Regions from separate parts of the Homo sapiens genome. Here regions 1 and 3 are each linked to region 2. The links are contacts of gene promoters, found by promoter capture Hi-C in blood cells and fetal thymus (Javierre and others, 2016). All regions are on one chromosome and are shown on one strand. The core of a region is centred on a gene start or on the middle of the fragment in contact, and the rest is flanking DNA. Distances in the headings are between cores, read along the strand shown. Region 1 overlaps WDR25 (WD repeat domain 25). Region 2 holds the start of DIO3OS (DIO3 opposite strand upstream RNA). Region 3 overlaps WDR25 (WD repeat domain 25).

What was found. The method cuts DNA at HindIII sites, captures the fragments that hold promoters and counts their contacts. A CHiCAGO score of 5 or more calls a contact.
Region 1: a fragment that was not itself captured here is called in contact with the fragment with the promoter of DIO3OS in region 2 in 1 of 17 cell types (endothelial precursors); the score reaches 5.9 in endothelial precursors.
Region 3: a contact is called between a fragment that was not itself captured here and the fragment with the promoter of DIO3OS in region 2, in 1 of 17 cell types (total B cells). The highest score is 6.5, in total B cells.

The regions. Positions count from the first base shown.
Region 1 is chr14:100,432,794-100,436,399 of GRCh38, reverse strand. All of the region lies in intron 2 of WDR25 (WD repeat domain 25), which reads right to left. Among named protein-coding and RNA genes, the nearest start is that of WDR25, 58 kb to the right of the region's middle. The HindIII fragment of the contact is 3,804 bases long and covers 237-3,606 here.
Region 2 is chr14:101,558,737-101,562,355 of GRCh38, reverse strand. It overlaps DIO3OS (DIO3 opposite strand upstream RNA), which reads left to right and starts at 1,934. Exons shown (of 2, transcript NR_152588.1): 1 at 1,934-2,104. DIO3 (iodothyronine deiodinase 3) reads right to left here and starts at 861. Exons shown (of 1, transcript NM_001362.4): 1 at 1-861. The coding sequence starts at 859. MIR1247 (microRNA 1247) reads left to right here and starts at 1,934; the gene lies at 1,934-2,069. The HindIII fragment of the contact is 17,616 bases long and covers 1-3,619 here.
Region 3 is chr14:100,461,032-100,464,564 of GRCh38, reverse strand. All of the region lies in intron 2 of WDR25 (WD repeat domain 25), which reads right to left. Among named protein-coding and RNA genes, the nearest start is that of WDR25, 86 kb to the right of the region's middle. The HindIII fragment of the contact is 2,959 bases long and covers 344-3,302 here.

The DNA of each region.
Region 1 (3,606 bases), core at 889-3,388, 1.1 Mb after region 2:
GCATTAAAGTGACATTAAAGCAAACTGAACTCCTTTCCCAAGTACAAGCAAAGTCTAAGTATGACAAGCACACACAGTCTGTGGTGAAAAGGCGGGCCCAGGTGTAGTAGTCAGCCCTGCGTCCCGGCTCCCACTGCTTGTGGGACCCTCCATAAGCGCTTCACTTCTCTGAAACTCAAAGCACTCATATGGAAAATGCTGGATGGGAGGACTCAATGAGATAAGGTGAGAAAGCTTTGTTAGCAAAGCTCCAGACATAACACATCCCAAAGACACATGGCTAGTCAACAGCAGAGCTGAGAATTTGACACCTGAATCTGGCCTCAGCAGATGCAAAGAACTTGCTGGAGAGGCCAGTGGTACTATCCTTCCCCATTACAGAGAAGACAATTAAGGCCCAAAAAGATTAATGATTTGCTCAGAGTCAACTCTTCCACGGTGCTGGCCAGCAGCTACACTCCCTCCTCTCCAAGCCTCACACCAGAGGACTCTCATACACACTTAGGCGTCACTCTTCTCCCTGGAAGTCACATCTAACCCCCAAACCTCACTTACAAGCCCCTCCTAGGTGATCCACAGCACTGTGTCCTTCCCTGACAGGCCTCACTGTCCTTCCAGCCATGAAGATCCCCATCTGGACTTGCAGATGCTCTCTGAAGTCAGGACAGCACCTTCCTGCTCACTGTGTTAACCTCACCGCTCAGCCATACTGAATGAATGAATGAATGAATGAACGAATGATTGAGTGAATGAATGTCTTGTTGCCCCCATAGCAGGAGCAGGTGGGATCACAAGCCCTCATCTCTGGATGTTAAGGCCAGGCCAGGGCTCTCTCCACTTCAAGACAGCTGAGTGAGCTTCTCTTTCCGTGATCTCCAAACTTTTTTGATCACATATCACTATCATTTTTAAAAATTTTTCTGAGCACACAACTTTGAGTACATAAACCCTATTCTATTGATGTGTTATACTCATTACAAAACATGTACACACAACAAATTTTAAAAGAATGATAAGGAAAGCAATTATAAGGGGAATAGCTCCTCCTTTCTCCTGGGTTATCCTTCCCTCCCTGGGGCCTTTTTCCTTAGCACCCAGGGTGATGCGAGCCCTGCTCTTGGCATCTCAGGCATGCAATGAACCCCAGCAGGAGGAGCAAGTACACCCGTCATTCACAAGTTTCAGTTCTGGCACCAGACAGTCTGGCCTCAACCTCTAGGACCAGCTCACATCTGTGTGACGTGTGGTCATGGGACTACTTTGAGCCTCAGTTTCCTCCTCTGCCCACATTACCACTCTTCCAGAGTCAGGTGGAAAAGACACAACGCCTGGTGGGGGCTGTGCTGTCATTAGCACCTAGACGCACACTGCACAGTTCTCATGCACCTACATAACAGCCAAAATGGAGACCACAACAGACCCCTCAGGAGCAGAAGGAAGGATCAGGGACCCCTCAGGACTAATGTAGCCTGCTCAGGCGCACAGTTAAATGAGAAACGGCAAACTGTGAAAGAGGATTCAGAATATTCTACTTTTTATGAAGAAAAAGAGCGGAATAAGAAACTACTCATTAAAGCAAAAAGAAACATAGAAGGAAAAAACACAGACTAATGAGACTGGTTCCCTACAGGGCAGGGTGGGAGCTGGGTAGAGAGGAAAAAGGGATTGGAGTGGAAAGGAGGGGGAGCACCTCTCTGAATAGAACTTTTTGTACAGACCTGCCTTTTGGAAATGTCCGTGGTTCACACAAAAGGGAGGGAAGAGAAAATCCCTAAGATTGGGGAAATCTCTCAAATAGAATACAAAGAGAAACAAAGGAACCAAATTGTATTTCAAATGAATAACATAACCACACTGAAAGGGGGCAGCAGGGAACAAACCCAAGAAACACCTGAAATGTGGACTATATGCTCTCAGTCTGAAGTCGAAAAGAGCTCTAATACTGAATTCTGATCACTAGACCTCTTTTTGCAGAAGTTAGCAATTTTGAAACTACTTTCTGACATTCTAGAATTGAGCAAATACATAAATACATTGTGAAAACCAGGAAGCCAGGTTTCACTGTTGGAGGGGGGAGTGACAAATATGGAAATGGAAAAGGGCAGAATGAACCCCACAGCACTAGATCAGGATTAGAGACATCAGTGTAAACTCACAGGTTCTCCTGGAAATAACTGAATAGAGGCATGTGTGCATGTATAGGCAGACATCTATCGCCAAGATCTGTCTTCTGAGAAGCAGTGACCCCCAGTAGCAATGAAGCAATGAGCACATCTAATACCCAAATCCCAAATCTTGGTTTCTCTCTCTGGTTTTTTTTTCTTTTCTTTTTTTTTTGTAGAAACGGCTTTTCACTATGTTGCCCAGGCTGGTCTCAAACTCCCGGCCTCACGTGACCCCCCTGCCTCAGCCTCCCAAAACACTGGGATTACAGGCATGAGCCACTATGCCTGGCCAAAATCTTGGTTTCTAAATGCCTTTCTCCACTAAAAGGAACCAGAGCTCCTTGGAGATGGCTGATTCTAGGACTGGGGCAGGAAAAGAATAAGTGAGCCCAGAATATCTTGCTGTGCCAAAAAGTCAAGTCATGTTCAAAGAATATGGAGACAGCAGCTAGCGTGAAGAGATTTCTCTTATCAAATGATAAAAATGTATTATTATAACTTACTGTTAAACTAAGAAACTAGGAGTCCATGAGTCCACATGGATACAAAATAAACAGACTAATGGGGGGGGAATGAAAACTCTTCTTTCTAGTTAGGATGAGAAATCCCCACGTGACAAGCGTGATCATAGGGACTGACTCAGGTAAGAATCATGGATGGATGCTAAAACGAGTTGATGAGAGGTTGAGGAATAACAGGATACTTATGTTGTCTCAAAGTGCCTCTCCATATTATATTTTTTAATTGCAAAAGGCAAAATATTAACTACACTGAAGAAACCTGGCATCTTAGCCAAGTGATCAAAGTTAACACTGCCAGCAACAGGACTAACCAACATGTGCCTCCTGGTAGGAAGCACTGAGAAACACAGCATCACCCGGAACACTCCTGCCAAAGGGCATCACCTGAACCTAATCACAAGGAAAGACTAGACAGACCTACATTGAAGGTCTATAAAATAACTGGCTTGTACTCTAAATGTGAGTGTTGTGAAACTGAGGAACTGTTTCAAACTAACGGAGACTAAAGAGATAGAATGATGAAGGGAACACATGACCATGAATTCTCTTTTGCTATAAAGGATATTTTTGGGACAGTTGACAAAATATCAATAAGGTATGTACAGTAGATAATACAGTCATGTGCTGCATAACAACATTTCAGTCAATGACGATCCACATGCACGGCAGTGGTCCCATAAGATTAGACTGTATTTTTACTGTACCTCTTCTAAGTTCAGATATGTGTAGATACACAAATGCCCCATTGTGTTCCAATTGCCTACAGTATTCAGCACAGCCACATGCTGTACAGCTGTGTAGCCTAGGAGCAATGGGTTATACCATATAGCCTGGGTGTGTAGTAGGCTGTACCATCTAGGTTCATGTAGGTACACTATATGGTGTTCCCACCACAACACTGTCTAACAACGCATTTCTCA
Region 2 (3,619 bases), core at 685-3,184:
TGCGCAGCTCAGAGACCTGGTAGCCGTCGGGGCCACGGCCGCCCTGGTACATAATAGTGCCACTCTGGATGACATAGAGACGCTCGAAGTAGGCGCCATAGGCCGAGCTGCTGGAGTTGGCCATGGTGTCGAGGACCAGAGCGCAGCCGGGTGCACCTTGCTGCAGTACCCTCGCTGCGCTGACCCGGTCCTCCAGGCTCCGGTGCTGTGGGATGATGTAGGGAGAGTCCGTGGTGACCCAGCCGTCGGAGGGGTGCGCTTCCTCGATGTAGATGATGAGGAAGTCGACGTCGCGCTGGTACTTAGTGACCAGGCGCTGGAAGGCGCTCATGCGCGCCATGAACGGTGGTCAGGTGCAGCTGCCGAAATTGAGAACCAGCGGGCGGTTCCCTTGCGCGTAGTCGAGGATGTGCTGGCTCTGGAAGCCGTCGGGCAGAACCACCTCGGAGTTGGGCGCCGGACCGCCCTCGTGCGCCTGCTTGAAGAAATCCAACTTCTGGCCATGCCACACCGCCTTGAGCGACGCCAGGGTGCACAGGCGGTTGTCGTCGGACACGCAGATGGGCGGGTCATCGGGAGGCACCTCCTCGCCTTCACTGTTGAGCTCCACTTCGGGCTCGGGCTGCCCCCGGCGGCGGCGGCCCAGGAAATGCTTGCGGATACACAAGAAATCGAGAAGCCAGAGCATGAAGGCCGTGCCGAGGAAGCGCGGGAAGAGCACGAGGCACGAGGCGGTCTGGGCGCAGAGCCTCAAGGAGTGAAGCAGCAGGGAGCGGAGCATGGTGGCTGCAGGCCCCGAAGCCCCCTGGGACCCCTCGCCCTCTCCGACCACCAACCGCGACGTGGCCTGGCGAGGCATCTGGGCTTCAGCAGTGCAGGGAGTTCAATTTATAGCGGAGGCTTCAATTGGCGGGAGACTCCACCTCCGGCCCGGCCCGCCCCCTTGCAACTTGAGCCCGGAGGGATCACCCAGCAGCGCGGCCAATGCCCTAGAAATCTTGGGCTGAGGGCGGGCGCAGGCGGGCGGAGGGCGGAGCGGCCGGGCCTGGGGCCGGTGGGGGCGGGCCCGGGCCCCGCAGCCAGCTCTCGGGGGCGGGGGACTCCGGCAGCCGCTGCCGCTGGGGACCGGGAGCCCGACCAGGGACCTGGGCGTCCGCTGGGGAGGTCCTCCAGCTGGCGCGAGCGCTGCGCGCCGCCCTGGTCCCCGCCGCCTGGCTCCGGCCCGCGCCCCCCTCGCCGCGCACCTGAGCCGAGCTCCCCGGCGGCCGCCGAGCCGCGCCGGAGCTCCGGTTCGCTTCCCGCGCGCCGCCGCCAACGCCGCCCACGCCGCTGCCGCTCGTGCGGGGCCGCTGCCCAGGTGCCGCGGGAGGCCGGGTCCGCGGCCGCCGCTTCGGTGGCCCCGGCTCCCGCCCCACCGAGGACGCGGGCCAGCGAGGAGGCAACTTTGCGTTCCCGCCGCCTTCCTGGCTCGCCCGCGGGCGCCGCTCGCCTGCCGGAGCCCGCCCGCCCGCCTCCCGCGCGCGCTCACACTCGCGCCTCGCACACGGCCGCCCCCCGCACCGCCCCGCCACGCACACCGCGCTCCGCGCCCCCCGCCGCTGCCCGAGGCTGCCGCGCGCCGCCCCAGCCCGCGCCGCCCTGGCCGCGCCCGCCCCGTCCCATCTCGTTCCAGCGGGGCGCCGCGGTTCCTGGGTCAGCGGCCGCCGGGGCCGGGCTGAGAGGTGCGGAGGGCAGAGCCCGCGGGCGGGTTACCGCCGGGCGCCGGAGACCGGAGAGCTGGGGAAAGCGGCGCCGGCCCTGCGCCCCCAGCCGACCCGGGCGCGGGGCGCCACGGGCGTGGGGCGCGGGGCAGCGGGCGCGGGGCGGCGCCGGCCCCGGGCGGCTCTCCCACTAGGGGTAGCTGTTGCCTGAACGCCGGAGCGCTCCCCTCTCGCCGCTTGCCTCGCCCAGCGCAGCCCCGGCCGCTGGGCGCACCCGTCCCGTTCGTCCCCGGACGTTGCTCTCTACCCCGGGAACGTCGAGACTGGAGCGCCCGAACTGAGCCACCTTCGCGGACCCCGAGAGCGGCGGCGCGACTCACCGCGGAGGCGCCCGGACGCGTCAAGTGCGTACTTTCAACCGTAAATGGGTGCTGAGCGTTTAGGGGTGCGGGGCAACTCCCTAACTCGTGGGGCCCTGGCCGGCCCTGCCGCGGCGTCCGAGACCTTCTGATCCCTCGCTGCGCGCGGCGCGGGGTTGGCGACTTGGGCTCAGGGGCGGCGGGGCGGGGAGGTGCCTTGACCTAGGGACCCAGAGGCCGGGAGCAAGTCTCCTTTCGCCTTGGACTGCAGTGTCCCCCAGGGCAAGGCCTGAACCAGGTCGCGAGGGTCTGTCTCCCGTCTGGGGAGCTGAACTGCCCGAGACACTGTCGCAGTCGCGGGGACTTGTCTGGAGCGGCGGGGTCTGAGCCCAAGTCGGAAGCCGCCGCCGCCGCCAGCGTCCCGTGCGCCTGCCGCCCCGGGACCAGCCGCGAAACTTCTTCTCGGGACGGAGACAGCGCTCGCCGCCCGGGCCGAGGTAGGAGCTGGCTGGGCTCGGTAGAGCGCGGGCGAATCGCTTTCGGCAGCGAAGGAACGTGTCGGGAGAAGCCAACTGCAGGACCAGGGCCCCAGCGGGCGCGCAGAGACGCCTGCCTTGGGCGGAGGTCCCCCCCTCCGGTTTTCGTGGCTCTGGTAGGGCCCTCTGTCCCGTGAGCTCCTCACTGGACCTGAGGCTACAGGCTTCAGCAGGTCAAGCGCCCGAGTGTGCCTGGAGGATTGGCGGCGGGGTGGCATGAGAAGGTGGCCCCTCTTCTCCATCTCCCAGTCAGGCGATTTCTCTGCTGTCTGGGGCAGGGGCGCACACCCCAGGAACTTACTACGTAGAGGGAAGCCAGCCTGGTCTCTCCCCCTTGCGTCAGTGCTCCTAAGCTGCCCCTCACCACTCTGGGTAGGGGTCTTTCAGGTGGGCTAGGGAATTCTCCTTGGAAGTCCCCTTGTTTGCTCCCCTCCATCAGGGCACCTCTGAGTTAGCCAATCATCCTCTTTTCTGGCCTCTTTTTTGCGGGGAGGAGAGTAGAGAGAGAAGCCTCCTACTCGGCAGGTCTCTGAGAGGAGGTTTGGGGGGGCTTCTGAGGTTGCTCCTCCTGGGCAGAGTCAAGGGGTGTTGAGGGTTCCAACTTTTACTGGACAATCTCTCAAGCTCTGATTCCCTGATTTCTGGGAGGTGTCAGTGTAGGGCTTGTGTCCTGCCCCACCCACACAGCATTTGGTGCAGGCACATGGGATGGTTCCCCAAGCCCTTTTCCCACAGTTAGTTTCAGAAAATGCATAAGCCACCTAAGGCTGGGAGAGCCTTTCTGTGCTGGCTGAGATCTGGTGGCATGTGCATGCATATGTGTGCAAGTGTGTGTGTGTGTGTGCAAGTGTGTGTGCGCATGTGCATGTGTGTGGAAAGTATGGTCTGGGTGGCTGTAAGACTGGCCCCTCTTGTCCCCTCTGCAGGCCCAGCCCAATAGGAAGCACCTGATCCACACTCTTTCTAGCCCCAGGGATGCTCAGGAAAGCAGCCTTTCTTTAGGGCTGTCATCTGTTCTGGGGAT
Region 3 (3,533 bases), core at 574-3,073, 1.1 Mb after region 2:
GTTTCCTCTGAAACTCATTCATTTATTCATTCATTCAACAAAGATTTCCTGAGGACCTGCTATTAGCCAGGCATTGTGTAACAGGAAACAAATAAGACAAAAATCTCTGCCTTCAAAGAGTTTATATTCTAGTGAGGGAGACAGACACTGAACAAATAAAAATCCACAGTCCTTAAGGCAGTGGTGAAGACTGAAGTATTAAAAAGTAACCAGGAAAGGGCTCTATAAGGTCAAGGGAAGGGGCTGAAATGGTGGCCAGGGAGGACCTCTCTGAGGAGGTGACTTTGGAGGAAGTCCTGAAGGGGTGAGAAAGCCAGCTATGTAGAAATTGAGGGAAGAAGCTTCCAGGCAGTGACAGGAGTATGCCTGGCATGGTCAAGCAACAGCAAGAAGGGCCACTGCAGCTAGAGAAGTGAGCAAGGCTGGGGGTTGGCAGGGAGGTGGTAAGAAAGGGATGAAGTCGGAAAACCACAAGCCGTTGGGGCATCCCAGGGTTCTGCAGGTGGAACGGAGGGGAATGAGGGCTGGTTCCACTGCAGTAGGACCACTCCAGCTGCCATGCAGGGAGGAGAATGAAGGGCAAGAGAGATGAAGGAAGACAATCAGGAGGCTTCTGCAAGAATCCAGGGAGAGAGGAAATGGCTTGGAACAGTGGGAGGCAGTAGAGAAGTGGCCTGCCTTGGAGGGTAGAACCAACAGGACTTCCCTGGACTGGAGGTAGGATATGAGGGCAAGGGAAAAGCCCAGGACACATTCGCAGTTCCTGGCCCAAGCACTGAAAGGGGTGGAGTTGCAGGGATGGGTCAGCCTGCAGAAGGGGTAAGTTTGAGGGAAGGAGGACCTGGAGCTCAGTTTTGAATGACAGACAGCAGACAGTATAAAGACTCATTCCCGTACCAGTGTGATGTTCAAAAGAGAGGCCCAGGGTAGAGGCTGAGCTGTGGATGCCATTGTGGAAATTGTGCCGCAGCCTTGAGCTGGATGAGCTCTCCTAGGGAGCAAGTGCAGACAGGACAGAGAGGAGTCCCACATCTCAGCCCCAGGCCTCCAAGTTTCACAGGCTGGGAACCAGGGGAGGAGAGAGAGAAACCAGAAAGGAGTCTAAGAAGAGGCCAGTGAAGTGTGGGAAAAAAACAGAAGAGGAAAGTCCTGGAAGCGTAGAGAAGAGAGTGTTTTGACAAAGAGGCTGGTCACCATGTCAAATGCTGATGGGTGGGTCCGCTGAGAATGAGAACAGACACACCTGGGGATTTGACAATCTCAGTGACAGGTGTATAGGTATCTGTTACCTTCTATAATTTTGAGTATGTTTAAAACATTTCATATTTAAAATAAAAAGTTAAATTAACCAAGACGGAGAGGAGGAGGAGCAGAAGAAAAAAGGAAGGGAGAGAAGGAGTGATGGAGGAATTGGGGAGAGGAGAGAAAAAAGAAACACAGGATGGGAAACGGAAAGGGAGGAAAAGAGAAGGGAAAAAGGAAGGAAGGAGCAGGGGGAGAGGAAGGGGTGAAAGAAGAAGAGAAGGGAAAAAGGAAGGAGCAAGGGGGAGAGGAAGGGGGAGAGAAGAGAAGGGGAGAAGGGAAAAAGGAAGGAGCAAGGGGGAGAGGAAGGGGGAGAGAAGAGAAGGGGAGAAGGGAAAAAGGAAGGAGCGGGGGAGAGGAAGCGGGGAGAGGGAAAGAGAAGGGAAAAAGGAAGGGGGGTGCAGAGAGGAAGGGGGAAGAAGAGAAGAGAAGGGAGGGGAAGAGAGGATGGAGAGGAGGAGAGGACGGAGGGAGGAGGAAGAACCAGCTTGGGCAACATAGTGGTCTCATGCAAGAAAGAAGAAATTACAAAAAACTTGAACTCTATGAAGTCCAAGGCCAAAAGCAGCAAACTGGAATGTTTGAATTCTTGTCCAGGGGAACTCCCAAATCAGCCACGGAAACATGTAAGGAGATCCATCAATCTGTAAATCGTCTGACAAGCTCCCCCTGAAGTGAAAAACGCACACTTGGCTCTCCTAGTAGATGCACAGACAACGACAGCATCTGAATCAATGCAGACCAGTCAGCTACCTCTCAAAGCTATCCAGGGTGAAGGAGGGAAGAATCTTTGCCAATTGGTCTCCTTAATTGAATTTAATGTTCACTGTCAGGTTTTAAAGATTAATTCCCCAACATTGCAGCAGACTGAAGTGCGTGCTTTTTTCAATTAAGTAATTAGAGATCCCAAACTGCCTTCATAGAATTAAGGAGTTAAATCTTCTGTCAAATGTTCCAAGATGATTTCATGTATTAACTAGAGACATTCTTTGTGTCCGACAAAAGTAACAGATTTGAAAAGAATATGACAAGTAAAATATGGTGCAGTCACTTGTCGGTGCCATATTTACCACAGTTTCTGTGTCCTCGTTACCAAGACATGGCCCCACCAGGAGTTCCTCACAGTCTCCAAAGATTGAACAAGTATTGATCTAGCCACAGGTCATGTTCTTTCTGCCTGCCTGCCTTTCGTTTTTGGTTACAAAAAATACAGTCTTCTTGTAAATTATTCAAACTATACAGAAGTGCAAAAACAAAATCCCAAAGGAAACAGCTATAGGATTGTTGTTTCTCTGATTTCATTGGAAATATGTGTGCTCTGCCCAAAAAAAAAAACAAACAAAACAAACAAAAAAAAACAGAAAAATACAACGAAAATAAGAGTCATCCATAACCCCATCACCTGGCTGTCAAACTTCTGGGTAAGCCTTCGCCTCCCTCGTGGCCCTATCCTACTCACTCTTATCTCGGAGACCCTCCTAGTCAGGCCTGGCTCCTGGCCTCATCCCACCTCTTGACAGTCCCTGTTGCCCCAGAAAATAATTTTAGAGACCATTCTCAAACTCACACAGTTCAGCACAAGCCTGTGCAACCAGTGCCTAACCCTTTACCAAACGGATGGGATCAGCCCATTTGCCAAATCTTTGAGAAGCCCTTCATGATGTTTGTGTTCTACAGCTGGAGTTGCACTGATTCTAAAATATCTGGGGAAACACCTTAATAATATTGAGTCTCCCAATCCATGAACAGGATGTCTCTCTCCATTTATTTAGGTCTTCTTTAATTTCCCTAAGGAACAGTTTGTGGTTTTTTAAATGAAAAGATCTTGAATGTCTTTTGTCAAATTTATCTCTAATTATTTCATAGTTTGATAATATAAATGGTATTTTTAACTTTTATTTTCAGATTGTTGATTTCTCGTATGTAGAAATACAATTAATTTTGGATATTGACCTTGGATTCTGCAACCTTACTAAACTCACTTTTTAGTACTAGAAGCTTTTTAAAATAGACAGAGTGGAATTTTCTTTTCTTTTCTTTTCTTTCCAAGTCAGGGTCTCGCTCTGTTACCCAGGCTGGAGTGAAGTGGTGCGATCACAGTTCACTGTAAAACTTTGAACTCCTGGGCTCAAGCAATCCTCCCACCTCAGCCTTCCGAGGAGCTGGGACTGCAGGCACACATCACCCTTCTAAATGTTTTTATTTTTATTTTTGTAGAGCTGGGGTCTCAC